Linked DNA regions of Homo sapiens: regions 1 and 3 are each linked to region 2. Evidence: promoter capture Hi-C in human tissues and cell types (Jung and others, 2019). All regions are on one chromosome and are shown on one strand. Each heading gives the region's core, a stretch centred on a gene start or on the middle of the fragment in contact. The rest is flanking DNA. Distances are from core to core; before and after follow the strand shown.

Evidence for each region. The method cuts DNA at HindIII sites, captures the fragments that hold promoters and counts their contacts. A contact is called where the count stands out against the background at its distance.
Region 1: a fragment that was not itself captured here is called in contact with the fragment with the promoter of CBX1 in region 2 in 1 of the 25 tissues and cell types used here (mesendoderm cells).
Region 3: a contact is called between a fragment that was not itself captured here and the fragment with the promoter of CBX1 in region 2, in 2 of the 25 tissues and cell types used here (IMR-90 fibroblasts and mesenchymal stem cells).

The regions. Positions count from the first base shown.
Region 1 is chr17:48,368,419-48,372,232 of GRCh38, forward strand. The region is part of intron 2 of SKAP1 (src kinase associated phosphoprotein 1); the gene reads right to left. Among named protein-coding and RNA genes, the nearest start is that of SKAP1, 60 kb to the right of the region's middle. RefSeq lists a silencer at 1-283. The HindIII fragment of the contact is 6,067 bases long and covers 1-3,814 here.
Region 2 is chr17:48,099,372-48,103,179 of GRCh38, forward strand. CBX1 (chromobox 1) reads right to left here and starts at 2,107. Exons shown (of 5, transcript NM_001127228.2): 1 at 1,897-2,107. RefSeq lists enhancers at 1,840-2,439, 2,266-2,525 and a silencer at 1,846-1,895. The HindIII fragment of the contact is 10,755 bases long and covers 1-3,808 here.
Region 3 is chr17:48,395,170-48,399,216 of GRCh38, forward strand. SKAP1 (src kinase associated phosphoprotein 1) reads right to left here. Exons shown (of 13, transcript NM_003726.4): 2 at 1,511-1,616. Among named protein-coding and RNA genes, the nearest start is that of SKAP1, 33 kb to the right of the region's middle. The HindIII fragment of the contact is 3,124 bases long and covers 501-3,624 here.

The sequences.
Region 1 (3,814 bases), core at 668-3,167, 270 kb after region 2:
TAAACCAAAATACAAAGACCACAATAGAAGTATACATAAGAAAAAGCATATAAATGCACACATACAGAGTTGTGTTTATCCTAAAAGCCTCTGAGAATTTCATATCAGGCCTGTGCAGATAGATAACAAACACTTCTTTAATCTTCTCTTTGAAGCTTCAGCTTCAATAGGAAAGGGAAGCTATCACTCCTCTGCAATATCCATACTCAATATCATCAGGACGATGCAAATGATATTTGGAACTGAAAAATGATGAGTACAGAACGAGCAGAGAGAGAATGTTGCAACCATATTGATGATGATCATTTTTACATTCAGTAAAAATAAACCCATCTTCACTTATGCCTCCAAAAGTGAAAATGGAAGAATAAAATTTCACAATATTTTCTCTAAGCTACAGAACAGTCTTAAAATTTTAGTATTAAATTGTAGAGTATGCTATTTGTGTTTTCAAATTAAAGATGTTTTGGCCAGGCACTGTGGCTTGCGCCTGTAATCCCAGCACTTTCGGAGGTCATAAGTTCAAGAGCAGCCTGACCAACATGGTGAAACCCTGTTTCTACTAAAAATACAAAAAAATTAGCTGGGCGTAGTGGCGCATGCCTGTAATCTCAGCTACTTGGGAGTCGGAGGCAGGAGGATCACTTGAACTCAGGAGGCAGAGGTTGCAGTGAGCCGAGATCGCGCCATGCACTCCAGCCTTGGCAACAGAGACAGACTCCATCTCAAAATAAATAAATAAATAAATAAATAAATAAATATAAAATAAAGATGTTTTAACTGAACTTTAGGTCAGATGCAGTGGCTCACACCTGTAATCCAAGCACTAAGAGAGGCCAAGGTGGGTATATTGCTTGAGCCCTGGAGTTTGAGTCCAGCCTAGACAACATGGCAAAACCCTGTCTCTACAAAAAGTACAAAGATTAGCTGGGTGTGGTGGTGTGCACCTGCAGTCCCAGTTACTGAGGAGGCTGAGGTGGGAGGATTGCATGAGCCTGCGAGGTTGAGGCTACAGTGAGCCATGATTGCACCACTGCACTCCAGCCTGGGCAACAGAGTGAGACCCTCTCTCAAAAAAAAAAAAAAGTAAAAAATAAAAAATGAACTTTAGTTTGGAGAAAGGTACAAATAAATTGAACCCACAGTATTGAGGGAATCTTGATAAGCAGCAGTCACTGTAGTAGTAATAACAGTAGTGCTAATAACAATGCTAAGATTTATTGAACATTTTGTTGGATGTTGCTCTAAGCACTTTTCTTACATTAACCCATTTCCTCACACTCTAACCCTATTATTATGCCCATTTTCTAAATAAGAAAACTGAGGCATCAAGGATTAAATAACTTACCCATCATAAGAAAGCTAATGGACAAGTGGACAAGTTTCCACCACCAACAATCAGTTTCAGAACAGGACCTCTAATGAGAAACTAAGGAGGAAAGTCTTGAAAATATAATCTAACAATTAAAACAATCATCAAAATTAACTGAGTCTTTCTCTAAAGATATTTTACTATTCTAAAATAATTCAGTGACTCAGTCAACCAATTCAATATTTATTGAATGTCTTCTATGACAAGCCCTTTGCCCAGGTACTATGGATGAAATGATGACTATAATAGATATGATTCGTCTACAGATATATTTCAGTATCTTTCATACTGCAAACACACAGTTCTAGGTTGCCACCCCAAATTCACAGAGTCTATAAAGAACTTAATCGGACAAGTAAAAAACAACGCCATTAAAAAGTTTGCAAAAAGCATGAACAGACACTTCTTAAGAGAAGACACACAAGTGGCCAACGAATATATTAAAATGCTCAACATTACTAATCATCAGAGAAATGCAAATCAAAACCATCTCACACCAATCAGAATGGCTATCATTATTATTATATTTTTTTGAAACAGGGTCTCGCCCTGTCACCTATGCTGGAGTGCTGTGGCGTGATCATGGCTTACTGCAGCCTCAACTTCCTGGGCTCAAGCAATCCTCCCCACCTCAGCCTCCCAGTAGCTGGGAGCAGCACGTGCCATCACACCTGGCTAATTATTGTATTTTTTGTAGAGACAAGGTTTCTCAATGTTGCCCTAGGCTGGTCTCAAACTGCTGAGCTCAAGCCCGCCTCAGCCACCCAAAGTGCTCGGATTACAAGCGTGAGCCACCACACCTGGCCAGAATGGTTATTATTAAGAAGTCAAGAAACAACAGGTGCTGGTGAGGCTGTGGAGAAAAGGAACACTTATACATTGTTGGTGGGAATGTAAATTAGTTTAGCTGCTGTGGAAAGCAGTTTGGAGATTTATCAAAGAACTTAAAACAGAACTACCATTCAACCCCGTAATCCCATTACTGGGTATATATCCAAAAGAAAATAAATCATTCTACCAAAAAGACATATGCACTTGTAGGTTCATCACAGTGCTATTCATAATAGCAAAGACATGGAATCAACCTAGGTGTCCATCAACAGTGGATTAGATTTTTTTAAATATGGCATATATACACCATGGACTATGATGCAGCCATAATAAACAATGAAATCACGTCCTTTTCAACAAGATGGATGCAGCTGGAGGCCATTATTCTAAGCAAATTAATGCAGAAACAGAAAACCAAATACTGCATGTTCTCACTTATAAGCGGGAGCTAAACATTAGGTACTTATGAACATAAAGGTGTGAGCAATAGATACTAGGGACTAATAGAGATGGGGAAAGAGAAAGAGGGGTAGGAGTTGAAAAATTATTGGGTACTATGCTCACTATTTGGGTGATGGGATCATTTGTATCCCAAGCTTCAGCATCACACTATATACCCTGTAACAAACCTGCACATGTACCCCCTGTGTCCAAAATAAAAGTTGAAATTGTAAAAAATAAACAATTCACAGAAAACATTGTCAGGCTTCTGCTGAAAATAGGGCTACTGAATCTAAATCAACAGATTGCAAGGGAGAGAATATCAGATTCTTGGCCATGGAGCTAACCAAAGAACATAGTTATTGAGATTAAAGTACTCAGAGCTTTATTCCCTCAGTCAGCTAATTAGATAGATCCTGATGAAACAGGTCAGACAAACAACTGTAGCTATCCTCATATTATTAGAAATACTGGTCAGGTGTGGTGGCTCACACCTGTAATCCCAGCACTTTGGGAGGCCAAGGCAGGTAGGTTGCTTGGATCCAGGAGTTCGGGACCAGCCATGGGTAACATGGTGAAACCTTGTCTCCACAAAAAAAAAAAAAAAAAAAAAAAAAAAAAAAAGCCAGGCATGGTGGTGCATGCATGCCTGTAGTCCCAGCTACTTGGGAGGCTGAAGTGGGAGGATCCCTTGAGCCTGTGAGGTTGAGGCAGCAGTGAGCCATGATCATACCACTGCACTCCAGCCTGGGTAACACAGCAAGACCCTGTCTCAAAAAAAAAAAGAAAAGAAAAAGAAAAAAAGAAAGGAAAAATAATTCTATTTCCCAATTATAAAAAAATGATTAACATTTATTAGCACTTACATGTTAGGCATTGTGCTAGATATACACATATACATATGCATATACATCATATATATTTTTTTGAGACAGAGTCTCACTCTGTCACCCAGGCTGGAGTGCAGTGCACAATCTCCATTCACTGCAACCTCTGCCTCCTGGGTTCACGCGATTCTCGTACCTCAGCCTCCTGAGTAGCTAGGATTACAAACGTGTGCCACCATACCCAGTTAATTTTTTATCTTTTAGTAGAGATGGGGTTTTCCCATGTTGGCAAGGTTGGTCTTGAGCTCCTTGCCTCAAGTGATTTACCCACCTCAGCCTCCCA
Region 2 (3,808 bases), core at 857-3,356:
GGGATGACAGGCTTGAGCCACTGCGCCCGACCCTACTATTTATTTTTTTAATGAGAAACAATTTAGGATACAGCAGCCATTGAAGAAAAATATCACCACAGGGAAAACCGTAAACGACTTCAGGTCCTCCACTCCCGTGAAGCTTCATTAAGGTGCCACCGGTTTCAATACAAGTGCTTTTCAATCACACCACTTTCATATAAAAGTCTATAAGGCACCTAGGGAGGAACACCGGCATTAATTTCCCCATTGTATTCCTGAATCTATTCCAAAGCCTTGGACCTTTCACAATCTTTCCAAACTGCTGATGTGACTCTTAACACAATTGAGGAGGCTACTTTACCCTGGGCTAGGGGTTCTAGTATATAACTGATTATAGCTGAACTTTTTGTAAATTCCACCTCAATTGCGTTAAACCAACACGTCTAAATGTAACACCAATTTATGAAAAACCCTCATTTGAAACTTTGAAAAAGAGGTAAAATATGGCCAGGCGCAGTGGCTCACGCCTATAATCCCAGCACTTTGGGAGGCCGACGCGGGAGGATCACGAGGTCAGGAGTTCGAGACCAGCGTGACCAGTACGGTGAAACCCCGTCTCTACTAAAAATACAAAAATTAGCCGGGCGTGGTGGCGTGTGCCTGTAATCCCAGCTAGTCGGGAGGCTGAGGCAAGAGAATCGCATGAATCCGGGAGGTGGAGGTTGCAGTGAGCCAAGATCGCACCACTGCACTCCAGCCTGGGCAACAGAGGAAGACTCTTCTCAAAAAAAAAAAAAAAAAGAGGTAAAATATAGCTCACTCTATTCAAATTTTCCAACAAGGAAAAGCTGGCTAAAAACAGAAGGGCCCACGAAACAAATATTACCTCACAATCTCACATAATTTTCCTATGTCTCCCAATTTCTCGCACCTCACACGATCTCACAATCTCTCACTACCTCACGCCGTTCCTCAACTATTAACTCATCTACATATTTTTACAATTTCATCACCTTTGTGAGACCAGTTACGATCCCACACAAAAACGTACGGAACTAATTTTGAATCAAAGCAAGAACTGCACTTGGACTTTTTTAACTCCCCAAAGGAATCATGGAGTGAAGGTAGTAGGAAACCTGGAAAACTGAAAAAAGCGTATTCCATCCTTTCTTCGCACATTATTCTTACAGCCTCCCCACTGTAAGGACCCATCAGGATGCAAGGGCGGCCTGCTTTCCCCTTTTTTCTTACATACCTTATAGAAATATTCTCGGGATCTCCGCCCTACTTATCCTAACAGCTCCTCCCCTTCCAGAGTCAGGCCCAGCAAACGCCTGCCCCTCCCCCTCCGTGTCCCCTTTCCCAATTTATTCCACACATCTCCTCCTCCAATCAGCACACCTTGTGCGGCCCTGGGCCCTCTTCCAATTCACTCGACGTTACTCCTCCGTAGTCCTGCAAAGCCAGGTTCCTCTGGCAGTCCCAGCCGGACCCGGCGTCTTCCGAATACAGTTACAAACCTCGGGTTGTGCGGTCGTATGCGCCTCCTCACGCCTATCCAAGCCTCAAGCCTGTCCCCTTCCGCCCTATCCCGCAGCCGCCCAGCCAAGCAACATTGTTCCAGACCACCCGGGCCCCGAAGAGCGGCCCCCAAGTGCTCGGCCCACCCCCAAGCACTCAGTCTCTGGCTCAGGATTCGCGCCCCGCCCTCTCCATCCTTCACGCAGCTGGCACCGACGCCTCAGCGACAGGCGAAGAGCTCAGCGCGGGAAGCGGAGAAGCAGGACGCTGGACCCGGGCGCGCTCCCCGCTCCTAACCTCCGCCTCGAAAGCGCGTTCCCTCACGCAGGGCTCCCGCCGCCGCCGCCGCCGCGCCCCCTCCCCCAGCTCTCCCGCCTCCAGCGGGCTCCTCACCTCAGAGCAGCGCCCAAGAGCCCGAGAGGAATCGGTGCTGCGCTGCTGGCGCGTCGCGTCGGGTCGCCTGGGGGAGTGGCGCCCAGGAAGGCAGCAAGCCGGGTGGCCGCAGTGGCGTCCCTCACTGAAGCGGCGTACCGCAGGCCCCGGCCAACGGCCCTCCCCTCAGCCGAACAAAAGAGCCTCGCAGTCTGCGCTGCCCGCCGCTCGCACCGCGCAGGCGCAACGACCCGCCGCACGGCACCATGGGCCTCGGGGGTCTGTCCAAGACTACAAGGCCCGAAGCGCCGCGCGCCGCGCACGCACAGTAGGCGAGGGTGGTAGGGACTTATAGTTTTTAAACTGTAACGGTGGAGAGATTGCAGCGTAGAGCGTTGTAACCTAGAATATTAGAACATATGGGCCAGGGGCAGTCGCTCACGCCTGTCATCCCAGCACTTTGGGAGGCCGAGGCGGGTGGATCACCTGAGGTCAGGGGTTCGAGACCAGTCTTACCAACAAGGTGAAACCCTGTCTCTACTAAAAATGCAAAAATTAGCCGAGCGTGGTGGCAGGTGCCTGTAGTCCCAGCTACTCAGGAGGCTGAGACAAGAATTGCTTGAACTTGGGAGGCGGAGCTTGCAGTGAGCCGAGATCCAGCCACTGCGATCCAGCCTGGGCGATGGAGCGAGACTCCATCTCAAAAAAAAAAAAAAAAAAAAATTAGAACATATGATTTTTATAAGCGAGCCCCCTGATGCTTGGCCCCCAAAAAATCAACCACTTCTGGACAGTTCTGTAATTCACATCCTCAAAATTTTTGAATCTTAGATTCTTCACCAGAACTTTATCATATCGCCGCTGCCTCAAATTTCCAATGATTTCTTAGTCCTCAATCTCTGCCTCCTCAAATCTCTGTAAAATTCCTACTCACGCCGGCACGGTGGCTCAAGCCTATAATCCCAACACTTGGGGAGGCGGAGGTGGGTGGATCACTTGAGGTCAGGGTTTCAAGACCAGCCTGGCCAACATGGTGAAACCCCATCTCTACTAAAATACAAAAATTAGCTGGGCGTCGTGGCGGGCGCCTGTAGTGCCAGCTACTCGGGAGGCTGAGGGAGGAGAATCGCTTGAACCCAGGAGGTGGAGGTTACAGTGAGCCGAGATCGCGCCATTGCACTCCAGCCTGGGCAACAAGAGCGAAACTTCGTCTAAAAAAAAAAATACTGTTCAGTGTTAAGATTACTTCCCCTTTGAGGTCTTCCCTGATTCCCTAGAGTAGGTTAGGTCCCCCCATAGGCCTCTCATAGCTTCCTGAATTTCCCCCTTTTCACTGGCTGCGCCACAAAAATGTCCTCTTTTTCATTGTAAGTTGTGCTCACCTTTTTCAGTGTCATTAATCTCCGTCAGCACCTTTCACCCAATCATCCCAAGGAAACACACAATTAGGAAAAAAACATGTTTTTAAGCCACAATATAACTAAAGTTTTATTTTTTTATTTTAAAGTATCCTTCTAATCAGGAGGAAGAGGGAAACTCTATTGCACTCTACCCCAAAAGGCAAGAGTTTGCATTTATAAGACAGTTTTGCTGATGCAGGCACTGTTCAGGGCAGGAGTTTGCATTTATAAGACAGTTTTGCTGATGCAGGCACTGTTCACGGCTCTGGAGAACTGTCATGTAAGAAAAACCCAGCCCAGCAATATCATAATAGAGTTTAGTTAAAAGGGCTTCAAGAAAGCACAGAGAAGATGAGAGGTGAAGCCAGCTGGACTTCCTGGGTCGAGTGGGGACTTGGAGAACTTTTCTGTCTTACAAGAGGATTGTGAAATGCACCAATCAGCGCTCTATACCTAGCAAGGGGATTGTAAAATATACCAATCAGCACTCTGTAAAAACACACCAATCAGCCCTCTGTAGCTAGCAAGAGGAT
Region 3 (4,047 bases), core at 813-3,312, 300 kb after region 2:
ATGTATTTTAAAAGAGGATTAAGAAGTATAATAATATGCAGCTGACAGTAATGAGTTACCGTAATTTGCCTTTTATTACCAACTTAAGATTGAAATTTAGTCCTTTCTCAATGCTGTGGTACAAATACAGGAAAGAATTCCTCCTCATTGTGTATTTGTACCCACAGCTGCAGTAAAAGTATTTTTGCATTCCTTATCAGAGATTTATACCAACAGAATCACCAAATACACCATTATATTTAGGGCATTCCTCTCCCAATTTAAAATAATTCCACCTTTATTCCGCAAGCCACCCTTAGAGTAATCATAAAATACAAAGGCAAACTTGTGAAATTAAAAAAAACTATAGGTTACTAAGTCTCCAGGTATGTAACTAAGCCTAAACTTATCTATTAATAAAATAACATTATGGAGAACTTTGTTTTAAACACTCTTTCAACCTACCAAAAATTATAGATATTCCCACTTTTTCAAAAAACTCCCATCTTTTGCATTCTGTTTGTTTCAATTATTCAGGGCAACCCAGGCTGATAATTACACAGTCCCCAGTTGCTGAGTAAAAGTGATGCTTAATTAGCCAGCAGGAAAGATCGATTAAGATCCAGCAGGGCATCTCATGAGGTTCTCTCACATTCCTGAATGGAATAGATTCTGGCTGTGCCCTTCCGAAGGATAAAATTCTCTGCTTCTATGGAGTTTCAATGAGGTTTTTAGAGCAGATACTAAGAACTGTCAGCCACGCAAATTAAATCCCAACCATAACCCTGCAGATGCTCTTCCTTTTCTAAGAATATTCAGTTTAAACATTCTGAATCACATTGCCACCAGGTTTGAAAAGGCTAAAGGAACACTCACTTATCCCTTGTTCTCATTCAGTTACCCATTTCAAGCAATAGGTGGTCAGAAAATATATTATAAAGGAAAATTTTTATTTTTTCCCCAAGCAAGTGTTTGCATCTCTCAGATGCTCACATTCTAAAATGCACAAATTACATCAGGGCCTCTTATTTTTAAAAAATGACATAATATTTCAACCCAGTCCAGGAATAAAACATCCCAATGTAGTCAAAGAATCAACTTGATAAGTCTCATTTAAGTTTTCTATGAGGTAAGGAGATGTGGAAGTAAAATCAGTACCAAAAATCATAATGAACATTATCTCATACTGCCTAACACTTTCTCGTTAATAATTTGGACAAGCATAAATGTTTAGCTTTCACCATTTTTTTAGTTAAATGCAAAAGTGGTCAATAAAGGCTAACATAAAAATCCAAAGCTAAAAGCAGAATAATTACCTCAAGATACATACATAATTATCAAAACATTTTTATTTTGGTAAACTACACTAACTATGCTTGCCTGCCTCCAGTTCAATTCAGTAAATATTTATTAAGTTTCTGCCAAGTATAAAGAACTATGATAGGTATGTCTTACCTTGTGACTTTATTTTACTGATTATAAATTGTTTTAAAGCTTATGAAGAAGATTAATGGAACCAGTTTATACAAACCTGGCTTTGATTTGCTGAAAGCCCCGTAGAATATGGTCTCTGTGATCCCTTGCAACAGCGCTGAGGTTCTCATTCCGCAAACCTTCTGCCAGAAACTCTTCAGCATCTAAAAGAAAAGGAAAGTTGATAAAACAGAAAAGATGTACTAAGGGAGAAAGGAAAATCAGAAGGATTAAGAAATGGCACATGTATACATATGTAACTAACCTGCACAATGTGCACATGTACCCTAAAACTTAAAGTATAATAAAAAAAAAAAAACTTTATAGTTGTGGCACAATGTGAATGTGCTTAATGCCACAGAACTGTATACTTTATAATAGTTAAGATGGTAAAATTTATATTTTGTATATGTTACCAGAATAAATAATAACTAAAATTTTATATATACCTGTAGGTAACATGTTCTAATAATCCAAGACCTTGCTATGAATTTAGAAAACTATGACATATATTAGCCATAAGAAATAACTATTTTCTAAATCATTTTAAGTAAACATTTACATATTAATTATTACTGATGGCAGAGAATGGACTGTAAATTTCTTTCTTTCTTTTAGGGGGGGGATGGAGTCTCACTCTGTTGCCCAGGTTGGAGTGCAGTGGCGTCATCTTGGCTCACTGCAACCTTCACCTCCCAAGTTCAAGTGATTCTCCTGCTTCAGCCTCCTGAGTAGCTGGGACTACAGGCGCATGCCGCCAAGCCCGGCTAATTTTTCGTATTTTAGTAGAGATGGGTTTTCATCATGTTGCCCAGGCTGGTTTCGAACTCCTGAGCTCAGACAATCAGCCTGCCTCGGCCTCCCCAACTGCTGGGATTACAGGCGTGAGCCACCGCGCCCGGCCTGGACTGTCAATTTCATAAACATGTAATATTATAAATAAGTCACAGAAGGTCACAGGCCAATAGAAGCTAGAAAGAAATACCAATAAATAGAGCCGAAATAAAAAATAGAGCTGAACTGCAAAAATCAAGAACAAAAGGGCAGGCATTCAAAGAAATATTAATTAGCAGATGCATCATCAATGAAAATGACAATACAACCAAGTGAAGGAACCCACATGAGAAAGACAAATGTCTCCAAGAGAAGGGAACTGCAATTAATGTGAACATATATTATAAAATAGGGACATGATAGAAATACATAATATGAAACAAATCATGTTATGTTGAAGGAAGAAATTGCAGAGGGGGGGTGGTTCTACAAATTTTCAAAGACAAAATACATTGATAATGATTACAACTGCCAGAAACACTGGCTACACATTTTATTCTGCACAAAAGGTTTGTCATCCCCCAAAAGCGTATAAATAATATAGTTAAAATTTTCCACCTCCAAAAATTGTGCGTGTAATATGAAACTGTATCATATATATCAGGAGTCCCCAACCCCTGGGCCACACACAGGAACCTTTATTTCCTCAGTGATCTGATAATTATGAAATTTTAAAGAAAGGGCCACATGGCAGGAGGTGAGCAGCAGATGAGCAAGTGAAGCTTCATCTGTATTTACAGCTGGTCCCCATCACTTGCATTACCACCTGAGCTCCAGCTCCTGTCAGATCAGTGGCAGCATTAGATCCTTATAGGAGCACAAACCCTATTGTGAACTGTGTATGTGAGGGATCTAGGTTGTGTGCTCCTTATGAGAATTAATGCCTGACGATCTGTCACTGACTCCTGTCACTCCCAGATGGGACCATCTAGTTGCAGAAAAACAAGCTCAAGCCTCCCACTGATTCTACATTATGGTGAGTTGTATAATTTTTTCATTATATATTACAATGTAATCATAATAGAAATAAAGTGCATAATAAATCTAATGCTCTTTAATCATCGCCAAACCATCCCCCCACCCCCGGTCCATGGAAAAATTGTCTTCCATGAAACCAGTCCCCAGTGCCAAAAAGGTTGGGGACCCCTGATACATACTATCAAAATATTGCTATGAATTTATATAGTTGGATAAGCACACCTAAAAATTTGTTTTATATTCACGTCATTTAACAACGCCAGGCCGGGCGTGGTGGCTCACGCCTGTAATCTCAGCACTTTGGGAGGCCAAGGCGGGTGGCTCACGCCTGTAATCCCAGCACTTTGGGAGGCCAAGGCGGGCGGATCATGAGGTCAGGAGATTGAGACCATCCTGGCCAACATGGTGAAACCCCCCGTCTCTCTAAAAATACAAAAATTAGCTGGGCATGCTGGCACACCCCTGTAGACCCAGCTACTTGGGAGGCTGAGGCAGGAGAATCACTTGAACCAGGGAGTTGGAGGTTGCAGTGAGCTGAGATTGCATCACTGCACTACAGCCTGGAGACAGAGCAAGACTCCGTCTCAAAAAGAAACAAACAAACAAACAAAAAAAACCACCAAACAAAAAATCCTAAATAGCCATCGCTAGGACTTTTGATGAGATACAAAGTCCTGGAAATTGAATATTTCACAAAGGACCACCATCAACATCCAAGCTCTGCATTGTATCTATTGCATATGTGATTTAATGGGTTCCACTAGGGTCCTTTGAATGCTAACG